Regions from separate parts of the Homo sapiens genome. Here region 1 is linked to region 2. The links are contacts of gene promoters, found by promoter capture Hi-C in blood cells and fetal thymus (Javierre and others, 2016). All regions are on one chromosome and are shown on one strand. Each heading gives the region's core, a stretch centred on a gene start or on the middle of the fragment in contact. The rest is flanking DNA. Distances are from core to core; before and after follow the strand shown. Region 1 has its middle 31 kb from the start of SUPT20HL1. Region 2 holds the start of PDK3 (pyruvate dehydrogenase kinase 3).

Evidence for each region. The method cuts DNA at HindIII sites, captures the fragments that hold promoters and counts their contacts. A CHiCAGO score of 5 or more calls a contact.
Region 1: a fragment that was not itself captured here is called in contact with the fragment with the promoter of PDK3 in region 2 in 1 of 17 cell types (naive CD4 T cells); the score reaches 5.7 in naive CD4 T cells.

What each region holds. Positions count from the first base shown.
Region 1 is chrX:24,388,868-24,395,002 of GRCh38, forward strand. No RefSeq gene overlaps it. Among named protein-coding and RNA genes, the nearest start is that of SUPT20HL1, 31 kb to the left of the region's middle. The HindIII fragment of the contact is 8,185 bases long and covers 1-6,135 here.
Region 2 is chrX:24,462,339-24,468,489 of GRCh38, forward strand. PDK3 (pyruvate dehydrogenase kinase 3) reads left to right here and starts at 2,948. Exons shown (of 11, transcript NM_005391.5): 1 at 2,948-3,223. The coding sequence starts at 3,118. RefSeq lists a silencer at 2,689-3,008. The HindIII fragment of the contact is 17,643 bases long and covers 1-6,151 here.

The sequences.
Region 1 (6,135 bases), core at 2,093-4,592, 73 kb before region 2:
ATACAGTAGTTCTATTTTTAACTTTTTGAGGAAACTCCATACTGTGTTTCATAGTGATTGCACTCTTTTACAATCCCATCAACAGTGCACAAGGGTTTTAATTTCTCCACATCCTCACCCACACTTGCTATTTTCTGTTTTTTTTTAAAATTTTTTTTATAATGGCCATCTCTAATGGGTGTGAGGCGATATCACATCGTGGTTTTGATTTGCATGTCTTTGATCATGTATGATGTTGAGCGTCTTATGCTTGGCCATTTATATTTCAGCTTTAGATAAATGTCTATTTAAGTTATTTACCCATTTTTTGATCAAGTGATTTGATTTTTTATTAATGAGTTGTCCCATTTTGTTTTTAACCAGAGTTTTTGACATTGATAGGGAAAACGTGTGTTGTGTAGTTTTGTGTTAAAAGCCTTCACATTCCCATGTCCTCTGAGGACTGGGAGCTCAGGGGAGGTGGGTTGTGCTTGATGATCCAGAAAGTTTCCCTAAATGAAGAAGCAAGGACGCAGCCAGCAAAACTCCAGGAGTTTCCAATATTCTCTGAAACCCAGTGAGGTTGGGGAAGAGATTACCTTCATCTCTGTCCTCCAGCCCACATCCTAGGCAGCATATTAGCATTCTTTATTTTATTTTTGAGACAGACTCTTACTCTGTTGCCCAGGCTGGATTGCAGTGGCGCAATCTAGGCTCACTGCAACCTCTGCCTCCTGGGTTCAAGCGATTCCTGTGCCTCAGCCTCCCAAGTAGCTGGGATTACAGGTGTGTGTCACCACGCCTGGCTAATTTTTTGTATTTTTAGTAGAGACAGGATTTTGCCATGTTGGCCAGGCTGGTCTTGAACTCCTGGCTTCAGGTGATCTGCCCACCTCGGCCTCCCAAAGTGCTGAGATTACAGGTGTGAGCCACTGTGCCCGGCCAGCATTCTTGTATATTAGGACAGACATGAATGTGATTTTAGTAGTAGTGTATAGGAGTCTATAGAAGCTGGAAAGAAAGAAATAACTTTTAGTCTTCAAGAGAAAAATCATCTATGCCAGCCTCCGAAGTCACACTGTCTGAGGACTTTCTGCAGTGATGGACATGTTCTGTGTCTCTGCTGTCCCCTATGGTAATCAGTGAATATTGAGCACTTGAAATGTGGCTAGTGGGACTGAGGAACTGAATTTTTAATTTAATTTAATTTTGATAAATATAAACTTAAATAGCCACATGTGGTTAGTGGCTACCAAATTGGACAACACAGAAAAGTATGCAAAATATATCTTAATTTGGGAAGAGGACTAGAGGGTTTACATAGGTTTACATTTTACTAATATGCATGATATTGGGCCTGTGTACACACAAGTTGATCGTATAGTATCTGAGATTTAGACAACCTGCTGGTCATTGTCTGTGATGGTGGTGAACGAGGAGGAAGAAGAGGAAGTCTGGGCCTGTAGTCAAAGGAGGTGATTAAAGGACCAAGGACAGGGCAGGAGGAAATTGGTGAAGAATATGATCAATCAATATACAGGTACATACAGAGCACATTCTGTCCTAGGGAGAAGCTACAAGTGGTATGAAAAGTTGGATCCACTCCCAAAGGGCTTACTATGTCTGGGGTGAGACAAGATACGGTCACATGAAGTGCGTGGTAAACAAGATACGCCATAATGTCACAGTTATGCCAAATGCCATAATTTCAAAGTTATGCCAAACATCATAATGTCAAAGTTATGTCAAATGCCATAATATCAAAGTTATGCCAAACAGATAAATACAATGCATCTCCAAGAAGGGAGAAATCCACCTTGGCCCCAGACATCAGAACCAGACTGCCTGGATTGATTGCTGGCTCTGCCACTTACTGGTTGTGTGACCTTGGGCAAGTCACTTGCTATCTATATGCTCAGTTTCCTCATGATAAAATGAAATGATAAATGTGCCAATATTATAGGGTTGCCATGAGCATTAAATGACATATGTGAGAGTGCTTAGAACAGTGCCTGGAATACATAAGTGCTAATTAAATATTAGCTGTCATTGAAGGGGGAGAGGAAACGGTAGAGTAGGAAAAAGGGCATTAGCTTTCATAACCTACATCCATCCAGGCACCTTCTTTAAATATAACTTAAACTCCTTGTGATCAATTTGATACTGAGTAGAACTGTTATTTATGGTGTAATTAGCTACTCTCAAGTTCACTTATGTAGCAAAAGTCAGGAAAAAGTAAGGAAAATAGGTTCTTAGGTAAATGTCCCCAGAAGTAGACCTTCAGATGAGGATTCACAAGCAAGTGATTTATTAAGGACATGCTCCCAGGGGAGGCAGGGAGGGAATGGAGGACAGGACAGAGAAGGGGAGGGAGCTAAGCAAATAGATTATCTTTTTTTTAAAATTTTTATTATTATTATTATACTTTAAGTTTTAGGGTACATGTGCACAATGTGCAGGTTAGTTACATATGTATACATGTGCCATGCTGGTGTGCTGCACCCATTAACTCGTCATTTAGCATTAGGTTTTTTTTTTTTTTTAATTACAAATAGATGATCTTAAGTGAAGTCACTGCCCCAGCCCGATCCCACAGGGGAGCTCTTGGGGGTAAGTTACACCCCTTTAGTGTACCACAAATCCAAACAAGGCAGCTGGACTTTGAGATGCTCACACCTGCTGGTCATTGGCTAAATTCCACCCCAGGGAACCTAAACCTCCAGGCACCATGAGCAAAGCAGTGTCAAAAGTCCACGCGGGCAGGAAAAACATACAGAATTTCAGGGAAGGCCACTCAGAAACAGGAAAAGGGTGGCGCCATTTGAATGAAGCAGCTGCTATCGTCCACTGAATATTATGGGTTTTGCTGAACAAGGCTGGGCAAAGAACTTACTGGGGCAAATTGGTGCTGCTAATTGGTGACCACCCAAACTTCCAAACAGTGGATCTCAAACTTCAGGCTGTGTAAGATCCCCTGGAAGTCGTTTAAAATGTAGATTCCTGGGCTTCATCTCCAGAAATTGTAATTCAGTGGGTGGGACTCAGGAAACTTCATTTTCAACATGCTCCCTGGGTAATTTGGATGTGGGGATCCTTGGACCATGCCCTGAGAATCACTGCCTTAGGGGACTGGCAGGAAGGTGTTGAGGTTGAGTGGTCAGGCTGGCTCACAGGCAGGGTTCCCAGTAGTGCTTAATGTTATCAGCAGTGCGCTGGTGAACAGACATGGAAAAGTGTGGAAACCGCTTCATGACTACCTTCCTGGGGAGGCACAAAACAAGACGGCTTGTCCCAAGTAGGGTGCAGAAAAACAATTTCCCTGGAGTGGCCATTGTGTGAGCCCTGAGGGAAAGGGGAGCAAGGGATGTAATTTAAAGAACTACAATCAGGGAGTGTCTTCAGCTAATTCCCCTAGAAAGCCTGAGACTAGGATCTGAGTTCAAGTAGTTTACTTGGAAGAGATCCCAGGAAGCACCAGTATGGAAGTGAGAATTGGAGGGACAGGGCAGAGAAGGCAGGTAGTCAGTACAGGATATGTTACCAGGCTGGGCGCGGTGGCTCACGCCTGTAATCCCAGCACTTTGGGAGGCCGAGGCGGGTGGATCACGAGGTCAGGAGTTTGAGACCAGCCTGACCAACATGGTGAAACCCTGTCTCTACTAAAAAATACAAAATTTAGCCGGCCATGGTGGCGTGTGCCTGTAGTACCAGCTACTCAGAAGGCTGAGGCAGGAGAATTGCTTGAACCCCGGGAGGCGGAGGTTGCAGTGAGCCGAGATCGCACCACTGCACTCCAGCCTGGATGACAGAACGAGACTCCATCTCAAAAAAAAAAAAAAAAAAGAAAAAAAAAAAGGATATCTTACCGGTGTCAGCAGCAGACCACTGTTGGCAACTGGGGTTTGATCCTGCTGGGCACATCTGAGAGACCATGCAAACACATGCTTGAGTTGTCCCACTTGGGGTGAGAAGCTGGGGCATTTTGCCATTGCCGCTTCCTGAAACTTCTGGCATACCCTGGGTATTTGGTGAGCACCCCCCTGCAGCTGGAAAAAGCCCCAGGCAGAGTTGCAGATGCTTGCAATAGAAAGCTATCAGCATGTACAAGGCTGGTGAGTGCTGAGCGGATACTGGCAGGACTCCTATAGCGTCTGCCAGAGGGAGTGGAAATTGTTCATTTCACAAACAAGGACGATTTCTCACACGAAATTGCCTGCTGCCTACAGGGCTTATGTTAGGTGGATCTGCTTGTCTGCAGTGGTCCTCTGTCCCTTAGCTGCATGTTCTGATGCCTTCAGTCTGGCCAGATTTCTGGGAAAATCCCAGCCAAAGGATTGTAAGAGGTCCAGGTCCTCTAGTTCATGAGGTTCTGAAGATGTGTGCTGCTGGTGGCCCAGGAATTAGCTTCTACCCACCCTGGCCTTGCACATTTTCTGTTCACTGCATTGCTAGCTATTGGAGCCACATCTGATCTCCAAAAATCCATGCCTGCCACCATTGCACCAGGCCAAGCCCAAGAGGAGAACTGTAAGACAGTCAGCATTTGTAGAGTTCCTTCTTGAACTGTCCTTCCTATCCATTTCTTTCTAGTTTCATCACCAGCCTTGATCATTTGTCACTGTCCCTTTTGTTTAACTGTCATTACCTCACAGTGCTGATGAAGCCATGAGGAGAACTGATATACCAGTGCTAATGATCATCAATGAGGTGATGGTGGAGGTGACAGGAAACAGGAGAAAATGACAAGGACAATTTGACATAGCCAAGAAAGGGATCCCCAGGCATGTCCACAGAGTTTGGGAAAGAACACGTCAAAAAATTTACCAAAAAAATATGGTCATGAGCTCATGGCTGGAGAGTCCAAAAACCAGAGATGAGCAAGAGAAAATGATTGCTGAAGAATTGTTCATAATATATAACCACAGAGGAAGCTGGAGAGGAGAGGAATGGGGTGGATCTAAAGAAGCCGTCGAGGCTTCAGCTCTTCAATAGCTTTGATTTTGAAGGGATATGTATAGAAACAGAAACCAGACATCAGTAAAGAATCAACACAAATCATGTCAAAAGTTTATCAGATTGGAAATCAAAAGATAGAATGGCCCAGATTTTCAGAAAGTCTAATGTCAGCAATACAAAAATCATTTGTGCTACATTTAGACCAGAAATAAAATAAGGAGAAAATAGGTCTGCTTGGGGTGAGTGAAGTGATACAAGCAAAAGACCACGAGAAAGAACCGTACAATTCCTAGTTTGTTTCCCCCTTTTTCTTATTGTTTATTAAAGAGAATGCTCTTTAAACTGGAAATGGTGAAAGACTCTTGGTTAAAGAAGAGAGAGAGGCAGAAATAGAAAAGAGTGTGAGTGTTTTGAACAAGTTCAAATAAGGCAATCTGTAGGTGGAAGGGGCTGTCATTGGGGGTAGTGCATTCAGTTTTGTATGTCAAGTTTTCAAAGAATCACTGTCTCTTATAAAAAGGGGACAGGGTACCTGGGAAATGAGGTCTCTGAAAGTCATGGCAAGTGAAAGCTGTAAGTGCTAGGTAGGTATAGTCTGGCAAGGGGGAGACATGGAGGAAGGACATCAAGCTAACACAAAAGATGCAAAGGGATGACATTTGGAAAAGGTCTGGACCAGGCTGTGGTAGGGTAGAGAGTAGAACTAAGCCCAGTGGGTTGACATTCCATTGACAGTCCAACGCAGTATGAAACTTCTGAATGCTTAGAAGCAATTAGCATTAAACAACTGCCTCAAGGTAGTGGTGTCTCTACAACAGTAAAGTTTAACCTGAGAGTAACTGAATCTGTCAAGGCTGTTGTAGACAGAATTTTTGTAGAGGATATGAGGCTAGGATCTCAAGCATTCTTTCTTTCTTTTTTTTTGAGACAGAGTCTCACTCTGTCGCCCAGGCTGGAGTGCAGTGGCACGATCTTGGCTCACTGCAACCTCTGCCTCCCGGGTTCAAGTAATTCTGCCTCAGCTGCCCGAGTAGCTGGGATTACAGGTGCCTACCACCATGCCCGGCTAATTTTTGTATTTTTAGTAGAGATGGGGTTTCCCCATGGTCAGGGGGTTTCCCCCCTGACCATGTTGCCCAGGCTGGTCTCGAACTCCTGGCCTTAAGTGATCTGCCCACCTTGGCCTTCCAAAGTGCTGGG
Region 2 (6,151 bases), core at 1,698-4,197:
GATCTCCTGACCTCGTGATCCACCCACCTCAGACTCCCAAAGTGCTGGGATTACACGCGTGAGCCACCGCGCCCGGCCTCTTTTTTTTTTTTTTTTTTTTTTTTGAGACTGGGTCTCACTTTGTCACCCAGGCTGGTGTGCTGTGGTGCAATCTTGGCTCACTGCAGCCTCCACTTCCTGAGCTCAAGCTATCCGCCCATCTCAGCCCCCCAAGTAACTGGGACTATAGGAGCGCACCACCTTGCCCTGCTAATATTTTTGTATTTTTAGTAGAGACGGAGTTTTGCCATGTTGCCCAGGCTGGTCTCCAACTCCTGAGCTCAAGCAACCTGCCCGACTCTGCCTCCCAAAGTGCTAGGATTAGACGCCCCAGGAGTTTGCATTTCTAACAAGTTCTCAGGTGATGCTGCTGCCGCAGGTCCAGGGATTTCACTTTTGAAAGCCACTGGGAGTGGGGTCTGCACTAGACCTTGGTGTGTACAAGGAGTTGAAAAAAGTTCATCAAGATCTATTTATCAACACACTGGTGTCACTTCTGGCCTCTGCAAGTTATCATGAAAGTATTAGGTAAAAATATATGCATTGCTGTACACAGGAGGTACAGTACCTTGTATTTATATTACATGTGGTTTATTTCATTTGACTGTCACAAATGCCAGGGAGATAAATCAGGTATCTTAATCTGACATAAAAATAAGCGTGACGCAGACAGGCTAGGTGACCTTAGCCTTGTCTAAGCACATTTTACATTATATAGGGCTCTTTCATATTGTTCCCAACTTCTAGGACTTTGTCACCTTTTGGAAAAGCAGAAATAAAATTAGGCACATGAAAGTTTAAATAATCAAATCAACAGAATGGATTTTAAGTAGCATTTTGTGCAGTGGAAAAGGAAGAAGTGAAACAAGCGATTTGCAAGCTCAGAAAGATCAGCGCTTTGTTGCTTAGGCTGAGAAAATCTCCCTCTCCACAAACATCCAGCTTCTTCCTGCTCACTGACAACTGCCACCAATTATCGCTCCACTTCCAGGTAGCACCTGAAAGTCACTTTAGGAACCACAGGCCACTGGTCTTCTCTTTGTCTGCCCATGCACACCAACTGGATTACTTAGCTCTTCTGGTAAAGCTCCTGGTTAAATAAGTTGTTAGTATGTCTTTTTTAATGCTTTGATTTAATTTGAATGGAAAAGACATGGTAGTCTACATACTTCTACCAAGATGAAGATGACCAAGATGTTCTTGAAAATCCAAAAGTCTAGAAGACCACTGGATGTCTTTTTTTTTGAGATGGAGTCTTGCTCTGTCGCCCAGGCTGGAGTGCAGTGGCACGATCTCGGCTCACTGCAAGCTCCGCCTCCCAGGTTCATGCCATTCTCCTGCCCCAGCCTCCTGAGTAGCTGGGGCTACAGGGGCCCGCCACCACGCCCGGCTAATTTTTCGTACTTTTAGTAGAGCTGGGGTTTCACCACGTTAGCCAGGATGGTCTCGGTTTCCTGACCTCGTGATCCGCCCGCCTCGGCCTCCCAAAGTGCTGGGATTACAGGCGTGAGCCACCGCACCTGGCCGAGGTCTTTTACTGTGTATGTTACTTTTCTTTACATTCAGAGTAGAGATGCAACTATTTTATTAAGCAAAGAATTGGCTGCATAAACGTCCACTGAAGGCACAAAAGCTAAATAGCTACCCACCAATAATCTCATTCAGTGAGAAAACTAGTCCAATCAGAGACCCAAGGAGTGGCTTCCAGTCACATTTGTACCTTTCCTTAAAGAACATTCTTCCTGTCCTTTTAGTTACATATGTTTATGTTTACATATTGCCAAAAAAAAAAAAAAAGCCAAGGTTTGGTGGAAATGGCTAAAGTAAGCTGTACTTTATTCACTCATAATAGGAAATAACAATTTCATATACTGAGCCCTGAGTTCAAGTTCACTTTTTTTTTTTTTTGAGAGGGGGGTCTGGGTATGTTGCCTAGGCAGATCTTGAACTTTTGGGCTCACGTGATCCTCCCACCTCCGCCTGCAGGGTCGTTGGGACTATAGGTGCATGTCACCATGCCAGGCTCTCAAGTTCACTTGAGATAAAGAATACCCAACACTGTGTAAGCATAGACTCCTGTCCAAAAGTGGTGGTGAAGCGTGAAGGGGGCTGTCCTATGGTGGTGGTGTAGAGAAGGGGTATGAAAGAAAGTGCCAGTGACCTTACATTTGATCCTTTCCAATGGTAGTAGTGGGGTGGGGGGGTATGAAACAGAGTCAGTGACCTTGCAATTATCCTGTCCACTGGCATTGGGGAGGTAGGGGGTGTTATTGACCCTTGACCTCACAATGGATCCCGTCCAACGGTGGTGGTGGGGGGACATGAAATGCAATCAGTCACTTAATCTTGTGCGGGAAGGAGGGGAAAGGAACCACGAAAAAGAGAATCAGCGAACTAACAATCCAGTCCAAAGGTGTTCCAAAGGTGTTCTCTTGGGAGTCAGGCAGGGAGGTGGGGGTGGGGCTGGGCCACGAAACAGAGTCAGTCTAGTTAGGCTGTAAAATCTAAGTGTCAGGATGCAGCGAACGGCAAGTCCTCCTCCCGGAAAAGGCGCCTGCGGTTGAGAAGGGTCTTGAGCAGCGCGGAGGATCGGATTCCGGGCTCCTGGCCTCTTCCCGGTCCGCGGGCACCTCGGCTACCTTTCGGCAGCGGAGAACCCAGCCAGAGGCGGAGCTGAAAGCGGCTGCACTTGCTGGGCTGGGCTGAGTCCCATGAGCCAGGGAGGGGGGTCTCTGGCGCCGCGCCCGGACAAAACACAAACGTCACAGAGGCAGCGGCGGCCAATCAGTGGAGGGCGCGCGCGGCCGCGTGCCCCTCGCGCTCCTCGCCTCCCCTCGCGCGCCGCGTACGTGCAGCAACCGACTCCGCCCAGCGAGGCGGAGCCTAGGGAAGCCGCGGGCGGCCCGCCGCTGTCCTGGAGCTGCTGCTGCTGCTGCGGCGGCTGCACCGGCGGCGCCGAGGCCGAGATCGAGGCCGGGGTGCGCGCTTCGCAAACGTGCCCTATCCGTGCGGCTTGGCTGCGCCAGCCCTTGCGGCCACCCGGGCGTCTAGGCGGGTCTGTGCGCCGCCCGGGCGAGGATGCGGCTGTTCCGGTGGCTGCTGAAGCAGCCGGTGCCCAAGCAGATCGAGCGCTACTCGCGCTTTTCGCCGTCGCCGCTCTCCATCAAACAATTCCTGGACTTCGGTGAGTACGGGGCCAAGGGTCCCCATGGGCCCGGGGCCGCCGCCATTCGGGCTGCCACCCCGGATCTCCGCAGCTTCGGGGTAAAGTCTGTGGGAACCGCAGGCGGGGCTAGGGAATATCCGGGGGGCTCTCCTGGGGCTCGGATTTCGGGGCGCGGAGGGGCAGGGCCTGGCCCCCTCGCACCCAGCCTGGGACTTACCCGGAGACACAGAAACGGCGTCTCATTGCAGGACCCTCATCGCAGGCGAGACTCCCCAAACCTGCGGTCGTTAGCTTCAAATCTGCTTGACACAAACCTCACAGCCCTTAAAACTTCAGAACGAGATGTGGGTGGCTTTTTAATGTTTTTATTTTTAGAATTTTTTTTTTTTGGTTGGGTAAGAACTGTTTAGAAATACCTTGAGGTTGAATAAATTATGCAATGGCATTTTGTTCCTTTTCTGCTCTAAGGTGTTGCTGTGTGGCTGGAGTGGCAGGACTCGAACTGTTGTCTTCATCAGGTTATGTTAAATCAGTTAGAGGCCTGGCCTGCAGACGCCTTAGATGCTTGGGAAGAGCGGACGTCTGGGATCCTAGCATCAGAGCAGGGTCTAATACAACTCTGGCTTTAGTGCCAGCACCTTTCGTTTCTCTTCTCCATTGGTGTCCCACCCACATTCTCCCTGTCCGGTGGGCTGGTGGGCGGCTTTCACGGATTGAGGTGGGACCAAAGAAGATTCGGGTTCCCAGCCTGCCTCAGGCCTAGCTGAGATGGGAATAGATTCCACCACCTTCTGTTAACTGAATCATGTTTCCCCAGAAAACGAAGGAGCTGGTTGTGAAACACCTAAAAGTAAAACGCATGCATTGAGGTATCAGAATGGAACTCAGCATCCCTGGAGGAAAATCAAATCCAGCAGCAAAGATGTTCTAAGCTCTCCAGGGGAAATCGTAGGGTGTCTGTTCATTTAATGAATTTTATGTAAATGTCAAGGGTGTCAGTGATAGTGTCAGTTGGGCATAAAAACTAAAGTGCAGAGTAGGTAGAACATTTGAGGAAGACCTGATATGCAAAAAGTGATGTCCATACTTTTTTTTTTTTAAAAGCTAGGATAGGAAGAGAGGAATAGGTTAAAGTTGAGACCAAATTAAAATTTTAGAAGCCAATTTGCCAGAGAATGATGATGAAAGTCAAAGTTCAATGACACGTTGATTTCTGCATCTTCAAACTTCACTCCCAAAAGCTATTGGTAGTTTTACTTACTATCTCGAGAATTGTAGAGGTTTGAGGCAGTTTCTGACTTTAGAGTTTAGAAAATGTTGCTATTGCTATAAATATAGGCAAGTTTTCCATCTTTATGGTTTAGGGAAGATTCTGAAGGTATCAGCCTTTCATTAGTGTAAACTGAAACAGGATAATTCACAATAAAAGGAACAAAAGGAATCCAGAAACTCCCAGTTCTTTCCACCCTCAAAGTTTAAGTGATAGCTCCAATAGCCAGCCAAAATTTTGGTTAGTTGATTTCCATAGCAGCTAGTGTCTACCCGTGTTAATAGGTATTTTGGTAAGGATGTTATGTGAGTAGGAAAACCACAGTGGAGGATAGTGTTATCATGGAAAACCTGTGAGGCCAGTATCTGGAAACAAATGTTCTAATTCTGGCTCTGCCACTAGCTCAGAATGTGGCCTTGACTAAGTGACCAAACCTCACTTGGGGTTCATTTTCCTCATTAATAAAATGAGTAGATTGTATCAGGCGATCTTTAAAAGCACAGCTCACCACTATACGATTGTGATTTCAAAGGAAGAGGCATGAACTTTCTAAAAGAAAACTACCAAATCTTTTGATAGATATTTCCTATAAAAGTCTTCTGACCTATTTTGGGAGGGGTGGAGGGATTCACTAAGGTCATGAGAGAAGCATAATAATTTAAGGTTTTCCTTATAAGGAAGCGCACAGAAGTGCTAGATATAGTTGTAGTGGAATTTGCTAGAAGTGACAAGGCTAGTTTGTAACACCCAGAGATGAATCAGGTGCTAATCAGCCTATCTTTAATGACAGGACAACTAAAAGACGGGAGTTGTTGCAAAAAGGCCATCTCTACTTCTACTTTTCTCTTAGTTCTGTCTCTTGATAGCAGTTCTATTTTGGCAATTGATGTGGGAGTTGGAGAATTCAGAATGGGTGTGGGATATTTTTAAGGTGAGGAGAGAGGAGGAGTGAAGAGGCTTCATGCCCCTGTATGATTAGAGAAAACTGCAGGAGAGGGCCAACTCAGGCACTTAAAGCACCAGGTAGTGGGCAGTGGATAAGTGAATGAAGCCAACGAGTTGAGGACCGTGATAAATTCCTGGTATATAGCTAGCTCCAAAGGGGCAGCTGATTGGCACCAATTCAGTATATTTCAAGAGAACTTTGGCATAAACAAAATAGATGGATGGATCAAGTTGGCCCACAGGCTGCTAGTTTATGAACTTGATGCCTTTCTCCATGGGTACTTTACAAATGGGACGTACATTTTGACTAGAGTAACTAGACAGGGACCAGAGAAAGGAGATACACAGGATATACACAATTTGTTACAACCTTGATAAATAGGCTTTCTTATGTGGATGTACTGCACATCAGTAAATAAGGAGATTATTTGCTATGTTCAAAAGTGGAGGCTAAAACTTGTTGTTACTTCAGAAGCTGTGCTTTTATTTTAAAGCAGGGGTTCCTGAGCCTCAGCACTCTTGCCATTTCAGGCCAGGTAATTTTGGTAGGAGCTGTCTTGTGCACTGTGGGAAGTTGAGCTACATCCCTGGCCTCTACCCACTAGATGCCATGAGCACCTCCCACTCCAAGTCGTGACAACCAAACATGTCTCCAGTCATTGCCAAATGTCCCCTGGGGGAGCAAAATGTCCCCTGGACTTCTGTTGAATCACTGTTTGGAAGTGTTTACT